Regions from separate parts of the Homo sapiens genome. Here region 1 is linked to region 2. The links are contacts of gene promoters, found by promoter capture Hi-C in blood cells and fetal thymus (Javierre and others, 2016). All regions are on one chromosome and are shown on one strand. Each heading gives the region's core, a stretch centred on a gene start or on the middle of the fragment in contact. The rest is flanking DNA. Distances are from core to core; before and after follow the strand shown. Region 1 has its middle 22 kb from the start of PPP1R21. Region 2 holds the start of FBXO11 (F-box protein 11).

Region 1 (6,721 bases), core at 1,565-4,064, 510 kb before region 2:
GATTACAGGCGTGAGCCACGGCGCCCAGCCTACATAATGTTTTTGATGAAATAAGGGCGTGTGGCTATGTAAGAACATGCCAGCCGGGTGCGGTGGTTCACGCCTGTAATCCCAGCGCTTTGGGAGGCCGAGGTGAGCAGATCACTTGAGGTCAGGAGCTCAAGACCAGCCTGGCCAACATGGAGAAATTCTGTCTCTACTAAAAATACAAAAATTAGCCGGGCATGCACCTGTAGTCCCAGCTACTTAGAAGACTGAGGCGGGAGAATCGCTTGAACCTGGGAGGCGGAGGTTGCAGTGAGTCGAAATCGCGCCACTGCACTGCAGCCTGGGGGACAAGAGTGAAACTCCATCTCAAAATAAAATAAAATAAAATAAAATCGGATACATAAAGCAAGAGTGACAAAAACTTGATATTCCAGAACTTGGGTGGTAGGTATGTGGGGATTTATAGTTCTTTTCACTGTTTTGTGTATATTTGAAAAATTTCAAAATAAAAAGAGAGGCTGCCTTAGGTAAACAAAGACAGTATATAATACCCACAGTGTCAAAGCAGAAAGTATATGGACGCTCTCAAAAGTTATTTCTCTTATCAGACCAACTCTCCCTGCTTTCTTCCTGCCTTGGCTGATGATTTACCTTTTATTAAAATTCTCACATTCCAATACCTTGATTACTAATGGTTATATTAATCACTTTTATTTCATATTTCAATCAACAGATCAACATTTATTATTAGCCATGAATATGTGCCGCTGAGAACGTCCGGAAACCTCCTCCTCCTCCCGTTCTCCGTTCCACCCAGAGGAGTCGCTCCCCAGAACGGTCCTTTCTGCCTGGTAGAACCTCGTATCACCACCAGGGGGCGTGCCATCACTGAATTTGCTCCGCGGCTGCTTCAGGAAAGATAAAATCAGCCCCGCAGTCTGAGTAACTGGTTACCAGGGTTTCGGCGCACCCAGGACCGGTGTTTGTCATTGTTTAGGCACGTCTCTGGTGACTTCATTCCACTATACCCAAGTCTTTTTGGGGAAACAATTACCCTATTTGAACAGAACAAGTAAGGCAAATTGGTAACTGGAAGATGACTAGGTGCTTCTACAGGATGTGTTGGGACATCCTGTCTTCCCCTGGGGCTTAGCTTTGGGTGTGGACCCTTCCTTCTCACTTGATGGTTGGGAAAGGATACCCCCCTCTCTGCAGGGGCACAGCCCCTTCTTTGTCCTGGATAGGCCTGGCTAGCAGAGCAGGAGTGAGCTGGCCCGTGTGGACAGGGGCGTCACTGGGGACAGACGAGGGGCCTCGACCTTCAGAAGCCTCTGTGGCAGGGAAGACCCCGAAGATGGCGGGACCGCTCTAAACTGCCAGGCGCTCTGCAGGCTCGGGCGCCCATTCTCTTGCACACCCCTGGGCCTCCCGTTCCCTCTGGCCATGCACTGAGTGCCTGCTGGGCTCCAGGCCACCTTCCTGCTCCGTGAGCCAGGGCTTTAGAGGACACAGGGCTTGAGCGGGAGGATGAGAGAGGGAGGGCTTCTCTCAATCGCAGATCTGATCCTGCCACTTCCCGCTCAAGAAAATCCTTTAGAGGGGGCAGCTTCGGATGGCTCCCTGTGGCCTCCAGTAAAAAGCAGAAGCCCTGTCATGGCCTAGGGGCCTGCACAATCAGCCCCTCCCTCCTCGGTGCCACTCTGCGCTGCCCGTGTTCACTGCCCTCCAGCCCGGGCGGCCTCTCGGTCCCCACTGCCCTGTGCTCACCGAGATGCTGTTGGCTCTGCCTGAAGAGTTCCTCTCCTGGACCCCTCCGTGCTCCCAGCCAAAGGCCTCCCCTCAGGCATTCTTCCTGCATCCTGAGCTTTTCCTTGGAAGCTTCTGCCACAACCATAACCCCATGCTTCCGACTCCCCCACTAGACTCTGAGCAACACAGAAACAACAGCATTTCCATAAAACCTTTTGAAAAACTGAAAATACTCTACGCATCCATCACGACCTCAAGCAGTGAACCAGGTAGCTGAGGCTTTGCTTTCCAAGAAGACTCCAAGGAAAGTGGCACAAAGAGAAAGAAAGTATTTGGGAATGAGAACCCTTCCTGAAGCCTTGGCATCACACCACGGTCAGCAGTCTTCTTTCCCTGTGTGTAAAGCTGACCCTAGCCAGGGATCAAGGGAGATCAGAGCTTATGAAAGGCAGGAGTAACGGCTGAGCAGAGAAGTGGCAGGAGCATGATAGTCATAACCAGACTGCTCAGAGCATAGAGTCCAGAAGCACCCCTTTTGCCTCCCTCTATGATATCTCCCAGTCCCTCCCTGCTCTAGGCCTTCCTAGCAGAGCTATCACCAAAGGGGGCCTCTGGAGGAGAAAAGGAATCAATGTGAAAAATTAAATTCTGGCTACTGTTCCTCTATACATTCATATGTTCATTTAATAGACCAATGGGGTGGTGCATGTGCCAGGCACTGGGATAGGTGCTGGAGATGGCTTTGAAGAGCTCAGACATAGCCAGCTGATGGGGGAGGCCATTAGTAAGAAAATCATTATGGTGCAACAGAAGCACTTTAGCAGCTTCATGTACAAAGAGGACTCCACTAACATAGAGGGACAAAAGCCTGGACCTTCTGGGGATGGAGAGGAGGAAGGCAGGAAGGTGCTAAGTTTAGGGAAGATATACAGAGCAGGTGGGCATTTGAAGATCAGGTTAGCCGGTCAGCCAATAAATGCTTACTGAGTGCCTTCTGGGTGCCAGGCACCCTTATAGGTGCTGGAATGCATCAGGGAAGAAAACAGGCCCTGCCCTCATGGAGGTGGTATTCTAGTGGGGTGGCGGGGAGGGATGCCGCGCATAAATATGAATAAAAAATAGAATAAGTAAGTGCATTCTATAGCGGGTTAGAATGCTGTGGGGAAAATAGAACAGTGTAAGGAGGTCAGGAGAGTTGGAGAGGGGTTTAGCATTTTTGGGGAGGTGGTCAGGTAAGCCTCAAGGAGAAGGTGACATTTGAGCAAGAACTTACCATAAGAGAAGGAATAAGCAGAGCCCAGGTATGGTTACCTGGGGGAAGTGATCCAGACATGGGGAGCAGCCAGGGCAAAAATCCCTGACGCTACAATGTGCTGGCATGTTTGAAGAGCAGCAAGGTCAGTGTGACTGGAGCAGAGGGCAAGGAAGGAGGAGAGAAGGTCAGATTGCAGAGGGCCTTGTGGGGAGTTTTAAAGACCTGGACTTTGACTCTGAGAGAAATGTACCATCATAGGAGCAGCGGTATGCTGGCCAACTAGGTCTCAGAAAAATAAAAATAAAAAGCCCTGGTTTGTAGCATTTGCCAATTTCTGTGGTAAATCTCCCACCTTGGCCTATTTCAAGCCATGAGTGTGGCATTCCTGACCACAGATAGGGGAGAGATGTGCAGGATTGGCCCTCACTAACTAATGCTTGCCATTCCAGCCCACCTCTGCTTTGGAGAATTCTGAGCAGAGATATGACATGATCTGACTGTGTTGCAAGGAGGTCACTCTGGCTGCTGTGTTGAGAGCATACAGGGGGCCAGGGAAGCAAGGGCAGAAGCAGGGAACATTTAGGAAGCTCTTGCAGTGATTCAGGTAAGAGAGGACATGTTCAGAGATTAGGTATTCACTACCAATATGGTGACTCAAAGGCAGATTCTAGGTGTTTTCTGAAGGCAGCATATAGAAGCCCACCTGGATGTCTTGGCAGACAGGATGTGGGTTATGAGAGGAGAGCAATTCAGGGTGGCTCTAAGCTTTGATAGAAGTTTTAGGGGGAATGGGAGGAAAGGCATTCTAGGCATAGGGTACAGCATGTGAAAAGCCACACACATAAGCATACATTCTATTTGGGGACAGAAATGAGGAGTGTGGCTGTTGAACCAGTTATGTGAGCAGAGGGAGCAGATAGGGCTGGTAAAGAGGGTCCTGTTCAGGTGTACCCCAGACAGGAGCCAGAACTTCCAGGCAGTTTTGAAGATATTCCTCCTCCAGGACCGGGAGGAAAATTCTTTTTTTTCTTTTTTTGAGATAGGGTCTTACTTTGCTGCCCAGACTGGAATGCAATGGCATGATCATGGCTCACTGCAGCCTCCACATCCTGGGCTCAAGTGATCCTCTTACCTCAGCCTTCTGAGTAGGTGGGATGACAGGCATGCACCACCATGTCTGGCTACTTTTTAATTTTTTTGTGGAGATGGGGTTTCGCCATATTTCCCAGGCTGGTCTTGAACTCCTGAGCTCAAGTGATCCACCTGCCTCGGCCTCCCAAAGTGCTGGGATTACAGGCATGAGCCACCGCACCTGGCCCCACAGAGTCTTTCTGCACAGCACTTGCAATTGTATTCCAGGTGGATCTTGAACTTCAAACCCCATCTATGCCACAGAATAGTTATTACTTACTCAGATGCAGTCTTGGGATGTTTTTCCTACTTAGATGTTTTGTTTTCCCAGTTAGCCTGGTAGTGTGTGTTCAGGGGCTGACCTAGCCAGGGCTGAACTCACAGAGGCTCTCAGGGATATTTATTGTATTCAGATGACCCAGGCTCCAAAAAAGCAAAGAATAGATATTCAATGTTCACGCTCAGGGTCTGAAGGGGGTATCCATCTGTCTCCACCAAAGATGGAATTCCTTTAAAAGGACCATAAGTGTGTGTGTGTGTGTGTGTGTGTGTGTGTGTGTGTGTGTGTGTCTTTGTAGGTATGTCTGTTTTTGAGGATTAAACATATTAATAACAACTCTCATTTATTAGATGCCTACTGGGCACCAAGAACTTGATATTCTTATTGAAGCCTCACAACAACAACAGTGCAGTGAGGAATGTAATTATGGAATCTCTGATTAACAAGCTGGTCATTAGAATGACATGTGACTCCCTGATTCATTTTATCTTTGGAGATATTTGATGATTCTTACAGCTTATTTATTTGCAAAATAAATTTTATGAATTTATCCCCCTTACAGTTTTTATGAGCTTGCAAGTGTCTGTAATTCAAACCCAACTATGCATGATAACTAAGATTAATTTAAAAAAATACAAATGCATGTCTGCTTTCAAATGTTTGTAATGAATGGTAATATTAATAGATGGATAGCTCTAAGCCAAATGATTTTACTAAAAGAAAATGCTCATTTGAATAACTGCTAGATCATGAAGAATAAATCTTGAGCTAAAAGCAAAATAATGATAATAATGTCAGTTACAAATGTGTATTCTATGTGCTTTGGTAATTTGTCCTAAACTTACCCTTAGGAACACAAGTCACAAAATGCTTCTGTTGCTATGTTGATGCTCAGGATTGTAGAGAGACTTGCTCTGTCCTTGACTCCCTTCATCTACCTCTTGCCACACAGAGAAAGTCACACAAGAAATACAGCTGTCTCCATCCTCCACGTGGCATGAGCTGGGGCCAGGGCTCTTTGCAGTTCAGGTGGAAATCCCCAGGAAACAGCCCTCATAGACCAACTCTAAGCCAGGGTCAAATGAAGATGAGTCCTTCAAAAACAGTTGCTATTCCACAGTGCTGCTTGTGTGTACTGAGGGGGTTGCGATTGCATTGCTGACTGACCCTCACTTCCTTTCTGGACCTGAGAGCATTTCACAACAACAAAGGGTTTTCTAAGATAAAGATTCCAAAAAGCTGGAAAAGAGCCTCTGGCAGTCATGGGGTCGGTCATCAGATGAGCACTTCACTCAAAGTGTCCTTAGAAATAGTGACACTTCTGTTGATGTTTGGTTTCTGTCACCCTGGCAACAACTATCTCTAAATAATCCCTCTCCTGGGGGTACTTCTGAAAAAGAGTTGGGCAAAGGGCTGAGGGAGGAGGTTTGGCCATATTTTCCAACCTGGCGTGAAAGTGCTGAAGACTTTTCTGGGGAGAAGGTGAAGATTTAAATGGCCCTGCAGTGATTTGTTTATGGTTTATCTTTGTGTTTTACACTCCTCTCACTCCTACAAGGGATCAACAGGAAGTAGGCAGAGCTCCCAGAGCAGCTCTACCCACAGAGTAGGCATTCAAGCAGCATCTGTGGGTTGCATGGGATGGAGTGACATAATCTTAAAGGCGTTATAACATTTCTTTTTCAGTTGTTTTGCAGATGAGGAAACAGACAGAGAGGTTAAATTACATGGCCAAAGTCACAAAGCAGCTGAACCACAGAGCCCGCCCCAGGGCTCCTGAGCATCAGCTGCTCCAGCATGCTCCCAGTTCAGCCCAGCCAGCTGAGGTTCCTGAAGGGAGCACCGGCCTGTGGGTTTGCACAGGGCTCTCTGCCCCCAATGCTCTGCCTGGGCCAGGCTCCATAGGAGACACTGGCGCTTTGTGTCGCCCTCCTTGGCACAAGATGAAATCAGGTGGTCCCCATTCTTCCTGCCACACTCCGCCAAATCTATCTGAACACATTTCCTGTGCACAAAGCCAGCTTGCCAATTATCTGCTCCAATTAAGGAGAGAGAGATGTGGTTAATTCAGTCACCCCAGCGAGCTGACCAAGGCAAACGGTGAGGTTGGTATCACTGGCCGCAAGTCCTCTCAGTGGCCCTGTGCATGCTGCTTCCCTTGGCACTCCTTCCTACCCCCAGATGGCCAGTGTGGTTTCTTCACCTCCCCCTCTTTCCCTTTCTGAGCGCCTGGAGTTCCAGAGCTGTGTCGGCCCTGCCTCCCCCATATCAACAGAGAGTCCTATCCCAATCTGTGTCCTCTAATAAACTAGTGTGTG
Region 2 (6,849 bases), core at 4,350-6,849:
GGAAAAAACTACTTTAAAGTTCATATGGAACCAAAAAAGAGCCCACATTGCCAAGACAATCCTAAGCCAAAAGAACAAAGCTGGAGGCATCATGCTACCTGACTTCAAACTATACTACAAGGCTACAGTAACCAAAACAGCATGGTACTGGTACCAAAACAGAGATATAGAGCAATGGAACAGAACAGAGCCCTCAGAAATAATACCACACATCTACAACCATCTGATCTTTGACAAACCTGACTAAAACAAGAAATGGGGAAAGGATTCCCTATTTAATAAATGGTGCTGGGAAAACTGGCTAGCCATATGTAGAAAGCTGAAACTGGATCCCTTCCTAACACCTTATGCAAAAATTAATTCAAGATGGATTAAAGACTTAAATGTTAGACCTAACACCACAAAAACCCTAGAAGAAAACCTAAGCAATACCATTCAGGACATAGGCATGGGCAAGGACTTCATGACTAAAACACCAAAAGCAATGGCAACAAGAGCCAACATTGACAAATGGGATCTAATTAAACTAAAGAGCTTCTGCCCAGCAAAAGAAACTACCATCAGAGTGAACAGGCAACCTACAGAATGGGAGAAAATTTTTGCAATCTACCCATCTGACAAAGGGCTAATATCCAGAATCTACAAAGAACTTAAACAAATTTACAAGAAAAAATCAAACAACGCCATCAAAAAGTGGGCAAAGGATATGAACAGACACTTCTCAAAAGAAGACATTTATGCAGCCAACAGACACATGAAAAAATGCTCATCATCACTGGCCATCAGAGAAATGCAAATCAAAACCACAATGAGATACCATCTCACACCAGTTAGAATGGCGATCATTAAAAAGTCAGGAAACAACAGGTGCTGGAAAGCATGTGGAGAAATAGGAACACTTTTACACCGTTAGTGGGAGTGTAAACTAGTTCAACCATTGTGGAAGACAGTGTGACGATTCCTCAAGGATCTAGAACCAGAAATACCATTTGACCCAGCCATCCCATTACTGGGTATATACCCAAAGGATTATAAATCATGCTGCTATAAAGACACAAGCACACATATGTTTATTGCGGCACTATTCACAATAGCAAAGACTTGGAACCAACCCAAATGCCCACCAATGATAGACTGGATTAAGAAAATGTGGCACATATACACCATGGAATACTATGCAGCCATAAAAAAGGATGAGTTCATGTCCTTTGTAGGGACATGGATGAAGCTGGAAACCATCATTCTCAGCAAACTATTGCAAGGAAAGAAAACCAAACACTGCATGTTCTCACTCATAGGTGGCAATTGAACAATGAGAATGCTTGGACACAGGAAGGGGAACATCACACACACTGGGGCCTGTCGTGGGATCGGGGGAAGGGGGGAGGGACAACATTAGGAGATATACCTAATGTAAATGACGAGTTAATGGGTGCAGCACACCAACACGGCACATGTATACATATGTAACAAACCTGCACATTGTGCACATGTACCCTAGAACTTAAAGTATAATAATAATAATAAAAAGAAATTGGTTCTGCTCTTAAAAAACAAAGATTTACCACTGTGTATCACAGTCCAGCCTAAAACTTGAACAAAATTGATTTCTTTTAATAGCGTTCTGTATTACTTCACAGGGAAAGGTATTAAAGTCAGATTCTATAATTCTTTAAAGATAACTTCTGGGTATCATTGGATTGTGTGCTTACCAGGTTTTCCCACATATACGTTAAATTTAAATCCTTAGTTCCGAGTTAATTTTCACTACCTAACTGATAAAAAATTATCTGGGCATGTACTGAAGAATGAATTTTTGCAGCTTAGTGAGATAAGTCATTCATACTTTAACAAGAATATTTTAAACAGAGCTGGTTATTCCTGCAGGGAAACCATATTCAGATCAAACTAATTTCTTAAATGACATAAAAGGAGTGAGCAGCTTTGAGGTGTCTTATGTAACTAAGTGCTGACGGCTTGGGACTAGATGATAGAATGACAGAGGAAAGGGAAGCTGAATCTTTGAAATGGTAAAATTATAATTTAAGAATCACAGTAAATATCACCTGCCAGGTATTAAAATGATTAAAGAGCTTATTTTTTCCACACTGCTATTGTGATAGGTTTTATAAACAAATAATTTTAAGTACACTAACCTTTTAAGCACCAGTAATTAGCTGAGAAAAACAAACACAAATGTTCTTGAAGAGAGAGCAAACCCTGAGGGAATTCAGTCCTCTGAAATTATGCTAAGTATTACTGAAATAATTCTAGGTGGCTCCCACCCCTAAAAGAAATCCTTTTAAATTTTTCTCCTGTTTTCTAACATATATAACTTTTATGACAGCTAATTGACAGAATTATTTACTAATATAGGTGGATCTGCCTATGGATAAAACCTTCCAGGATATTTTGGGTTCTCACCAGAACTCAAAATACTGTCTACAATGCTTCTGAATGGAAAGGGCCCTGGATTGGCAGACAGTGGCTTTGCTACCAAATAGTTATAGTTTTGTCACCTCCCTTCTTTGGAGTTTAGTTTCCTAGTCTGTTGAATACAGAAATGAGATTTAATGATCTCCAAGGTCCGTCCTGACAACTCTTAAGTTCCACAATTGAGTTTGAACACTTTTACACAAAGATGACTTCAACATTTAATCCCTGAAATAAACTAAACATATGTAGAAACCAGTAATGTAGGGATAGGATAATATTTTTTAATATCTCCCAATAGGTGTTCCATTATTGTTAAACTGGGTTCTCTCTTGAGCACTTCATCAGCTATCACGGCTCCAAGAAAGGGAGCAGAAGAAATGCCAAATCTCAAAAATGAAGAGGATACGGTACAGAAGGAAAGTTCCTGACAAATGGGAAGGAGAAAAATCCATTCCTTAAAAACCCTGGGGCATGATGGAAAGAAGAAAAGGGTACAAGGAAGAGGTTAATCAGACTCAGTGTGCTTACTTTCCATCCCCTCTCAGGGTGGAAACTAGAATTGAGGGTATGTAGTTGACATATGCACAGAGACATAGGGAAATCCAAGAAAGTTGGAGATAGTGGTTTGCGTCCCTGGACATGTCTGTGAAACACTAAGACGTCTAGGAGTTCTACTTTCAGCCTGCCAGCATGTTCAATATGACATAAGGAGAAAAATGCAACATTGTTGGATAGTGGCTCAACAACTAGTAAGCCCAAAGCAAGGCTCCTGGCTCATCAAGGCCTACACGTGGTATTCGGGGAATCCAGAAGTACCCATGTGTCTCAGTGAGAACCATGAGGATCAAGGGACCTGTGGAGACTCGGGGTCAGTACAAAGAGGTTATAGTGTATGGGGCAAATGGCTCATGTATGGATTTCAGCAAAAGAAATCAGCCTCAAAAGTACAGAAATGACCAGTTTTATGAGTAATAAATGATAAACGACAGTGGCTGCCATCAGACAATACTAGCCACTCCACGCCAGAAGACAACATAAGGACTGGCATTAGTGGCTTAGATGCCCTTGTAAACCTCCCTATTCCTCAGGGATGCTACCACCCTACCAGTTACTCTGTGAATTTGAAAAAGGTGCTTCCTTTCTCAAGACACTTTACTACCATCTATCAGGAAATTGTCATAATATACTAATTTTGCTAAAACAAGGCATTTTACTGCCATATGTCAGAGAATTGTTGCAATAAACTTAGAAATCTAGGGTATGTAAAAGATACCCCTTATACCACATATAACAACCCTAAACCCCGCCCCTCCCATTAATATATTAGAAGGAGAGTTGGGGAAATAAAAGGTGAAAGCAGTTATGTTTTTTAAAAAATTGAGATGATGTGGGGACTTGAAGTTAAAATTACAGAAAATAAACAAGCTACATTTTCTTTACATCTGAATTAATGTAAGTAAAACTTCCACTCTGCCACACCAAAATACAAACTCTTTATGCCCAATATTTTCCTTTTATTAGTATTTCCCATAACACCTTATATACATATTAATGCATACACGGAAGGAGCCAAAAAGTACTTGTCAAATAAAAAAGTAAATTTTTAGAAAAATCAGAAATGATGGACACACTTATATGTATAACGTAATTTTCCTGTACTTTTACTTTTCCCCTATGTTTATTTGAACAAACCTAAAATTGTACCCATTTGCACCTAGCTAACCACCATAAAAATTTGGAGTTCTCCAGCTGTTTTGTAACAGCTGTCCTCCTCAAATATTTTTTTGAGAAACAAACATAGACCTACGTTTCTCTATTTTTCTGGACTAAAGAGAGATCATCTCAAAATCACAGAACTCTTAAAAATTGAAAACAGGATCATGTAGTCTAAAATAAGTTCTTATTTAAACTTGGGAGGTGAGGGGGGCGGGGCTGACATCTAGAAAGGTGAAGTACTTTGCCTGTAGTCACACACCAAGTCTGGGACTCAACACACAGGCTCGCCTCTTTGCGTCTCTCCCTCCTTCCAAAATACATTTTCCTCCCTCTCAAAAGCTTTATCACGCTTTGTAGTTGCTTAATTATCTATGTCAAACCTAGAGAGCAACTGATGACACTCAGAGACATCGCCCAAAGTTCTGAAAACCAGATAATCAGATAAACTGCCAGTTTTACCACATCCAAAAAATGCACAACAAAAGAGAGAAGGGGGAGAATCGAGAATACATTTTCAGCCGCAAGGCAATAAAAACACGTTTCCCTTGGAGAGAGATTATGTTGGGGGCATCAGGTATAAAGGTAATTCCTGTTGAGGGTTTTTCTTTTCCTTGCAGTTTGTGGGACCTAAAAAAAAAAAATTAAAAATTAAATCACATAAACAATCACAACATCAACACATTTACTTCTCTCCTCTCACATATTATTTTCCCACACATTGTATACACTTCTTCAAAGAACAAATCAAATTGGCCAAAGGTCAAAGCCTTTTCAAGGTTTAGATGATATACGATTAGGCACCGACTCCAAACTTCGCTTACCAAGCCCAAAGCTCGGAGACGGAAATCTTCAGGGTTTGCAAATACCCTCAGCTTGGCTAAAGGGCACGAAATCTCTAGCGCTCCCTACAGCTCAGATTTTGAACCCACCTACCACAGAAAACCCGAGTTACCAAAGATTGGCTCCCTCGTTCCACTTTTTTTTCAGCTCAAAAAAATCGGGTGAAGGTTGGGGTAGGGGGGAAGCTGAAACGGCGAACCGAAGGATTAATCACTTCTCCCCATTACATCAGCAACCCCCGCCCTTTCCTCCGAGCACCTCCTCTCCCAGAATCGTCGCTACGCACTGGCGCTCTCTTCGCCCACCCCCTGCTCTATTATTTGCCCTGATACCTCCCCATTATCACCCGCCCCGCCACACTCCCCCTTTCCTCTTTCCCCCTCCTAGGCGGGGGAGGGAGGAAACCCGAGAGAGGAAACAGGGCGTTGAAGGGACTTCGCGATAAGAGCGGAGGCCCCATTGGCCGGAAGGTTGTACGGGCGCCTTAGATTGGCCGCCTGGACGGAATCCCCGCCCCTCCTTTCCCCGCCCACCCACCCCTCCCCCCGCCGCCCCGCGGCCCTCCCCCGCGCCCCCGGCCAGCCCCGCGGCGGGGAGGGACCGACTGGGCGAGTGGAGGCTCCGGCGGTGTCAATGGCTCCTCCTGCCACGGAGCAGCAGCAGAAGCAGCGGCGACAGGGCTGACGAGGAGGAGGAGGAAAGGTTCCTTTAAGGAGGAGGAAGGACGACGCCTCTTTTTCCCCCTATCTCCTCCCTTCACACTCATTTCCCCTTCGCCGAGGAGAGAAGGGGGGGAGGAGAGAGAAGAGACCGAAGAAAGAGAGAAAAATTCCTCACAGAAATCTCTTTCAGGGGGTGTGGGGGGGAGGAAGAGGGAAAAAAAAGAGCCGGGCGCCCCCTGCTCCCTCCCTCCCTTCTCTCCCTCTCTTTTTCTCCCTTCCTCACCCGCCCGCCCACTCCCCCCGCTGCCGGAGACGCCGCTCGCGAGTCGGCGGGACCGGGATCTGTCTCTTCAGCCGCCGCCGCCGCCGCCGCCGCGCTTCGCCTCGGGATCCCCAAGCGGCGGACGCCCTTTCTTTCTTTCTCTCGGTCTGCCCGTCTTTCTGCCTTCGTCCCTCGCGGCCGCCCCGCCCGGCGGCTTCGGCCTTCCCCGTGCGTCAGGCCCTCCCGGCCGGCCTCGCTCGGTCTCCGTCTGTCTACCCGGGCCTTTCTCCGGACTCGGGGTCCCGCTCGCCCCCTCCGCCCTCAGCGTCTCCCCTTCCCCTCGCCCCCTCTCCTTCCTCCCCCCTCTCCCACTCTCCCCACCCCTTTCTCCTGCCCCGAAGCTCGCTGTGCGTGTGCGTGTGTGTGTCCCTCCGCCAACGCCGCCACCTCAGCCCGGCAAATGAACTCCGTCCGAGCCGCCAACCGGAGACCCAGGCGAGTGTCGCGGCCGCGCCCGGTGCAGCAACAGCAGCAGCAGCCCCCGCAGCAGCCGCCGCCGCAGCCGCCCCAGCAGCAGCCGCCCCAGCAGCAGCCTCCGCCGCCGCCGCAGCAGCAGCAGCAGCAGCAGCCTCCGCCGCCGCCACCGCCGCCTCCGCCGCTGCCTCAGGAGCGGAACAACGTCGGCGAGCGGGGTAAGGCCGCGCTACCTCCCAACCGCCCGCCTTCCCGGGCACCGCGGGAAGGGAGGCCGGGGCGGGCGGGCGGGCGGGCGGGCGGGGGCGGCCTGCGCGCCCTGGGGGTGGGAGACCCAAGCTGAGCGGAGGCGGGTCCCCCGGTGCCGCAGTGTCAGCCCGGGCCGGGCCCGGCCGGCAGGAAAAGCCGCGGCTTCCCTTCTCGCCTGGGCTCTCGCTCAGGCCGCGCTTTGTTTGGTTT

Evidence for each region. Contacts are between HindIII fragments. The CHiCAGO score rates a contact against its expected background, and 5 or more counts as called.
Region 1: a contact is called between a fragment that was not itself captured here and the fragment with the promoter of FBXO11 in region 2, in 17 of 17 cell types (total CD4 T cells, activated CD4 T cells, total CD8 T cells and 14 more). The highest score is 40.1, in total CD4 T cells.

What each region holds. Positions count from the first base shown.
Region 1 is chr2:48,415,057-48,421,777 of GRCh38, reverse strand. No RefSeq gene overlaps it. Among named protein-coding and RNA genes, the nearest start is that of PPP1R21, 22 kb to the left of the region's middle. The HindIII fragment of the contact is 1,891 bases long and covers 1,869-3,759 here.
Region 2 is chr2:47,905,248-47,912,096 of GRCh38, reverse strand. It overlaps FBXO11 (F-box protein 11), which reads left to right and starts at 5,599. Exons shown (of 23, transcript NM_001190274.2): 1 at 5,599-6,608. The coding sequence starts at 6,377. It overlaps LOC100506235 (a long non-coding RNA gene), which reads right to left and starts at 6,547. Exons shown (of 2, transcript NR_187636.1): 1 at 6,298-6,547; 2 at 3,930-4,779. RefSeq lists an enhancer at 4,653-5,437 and silencers at 5,507-5,606, 6,097-6,286, 6,647-6,766, 6,777-6,826. The HindIII fragment of the contact is 3,894 bases long and covers 4,494-6,849 here.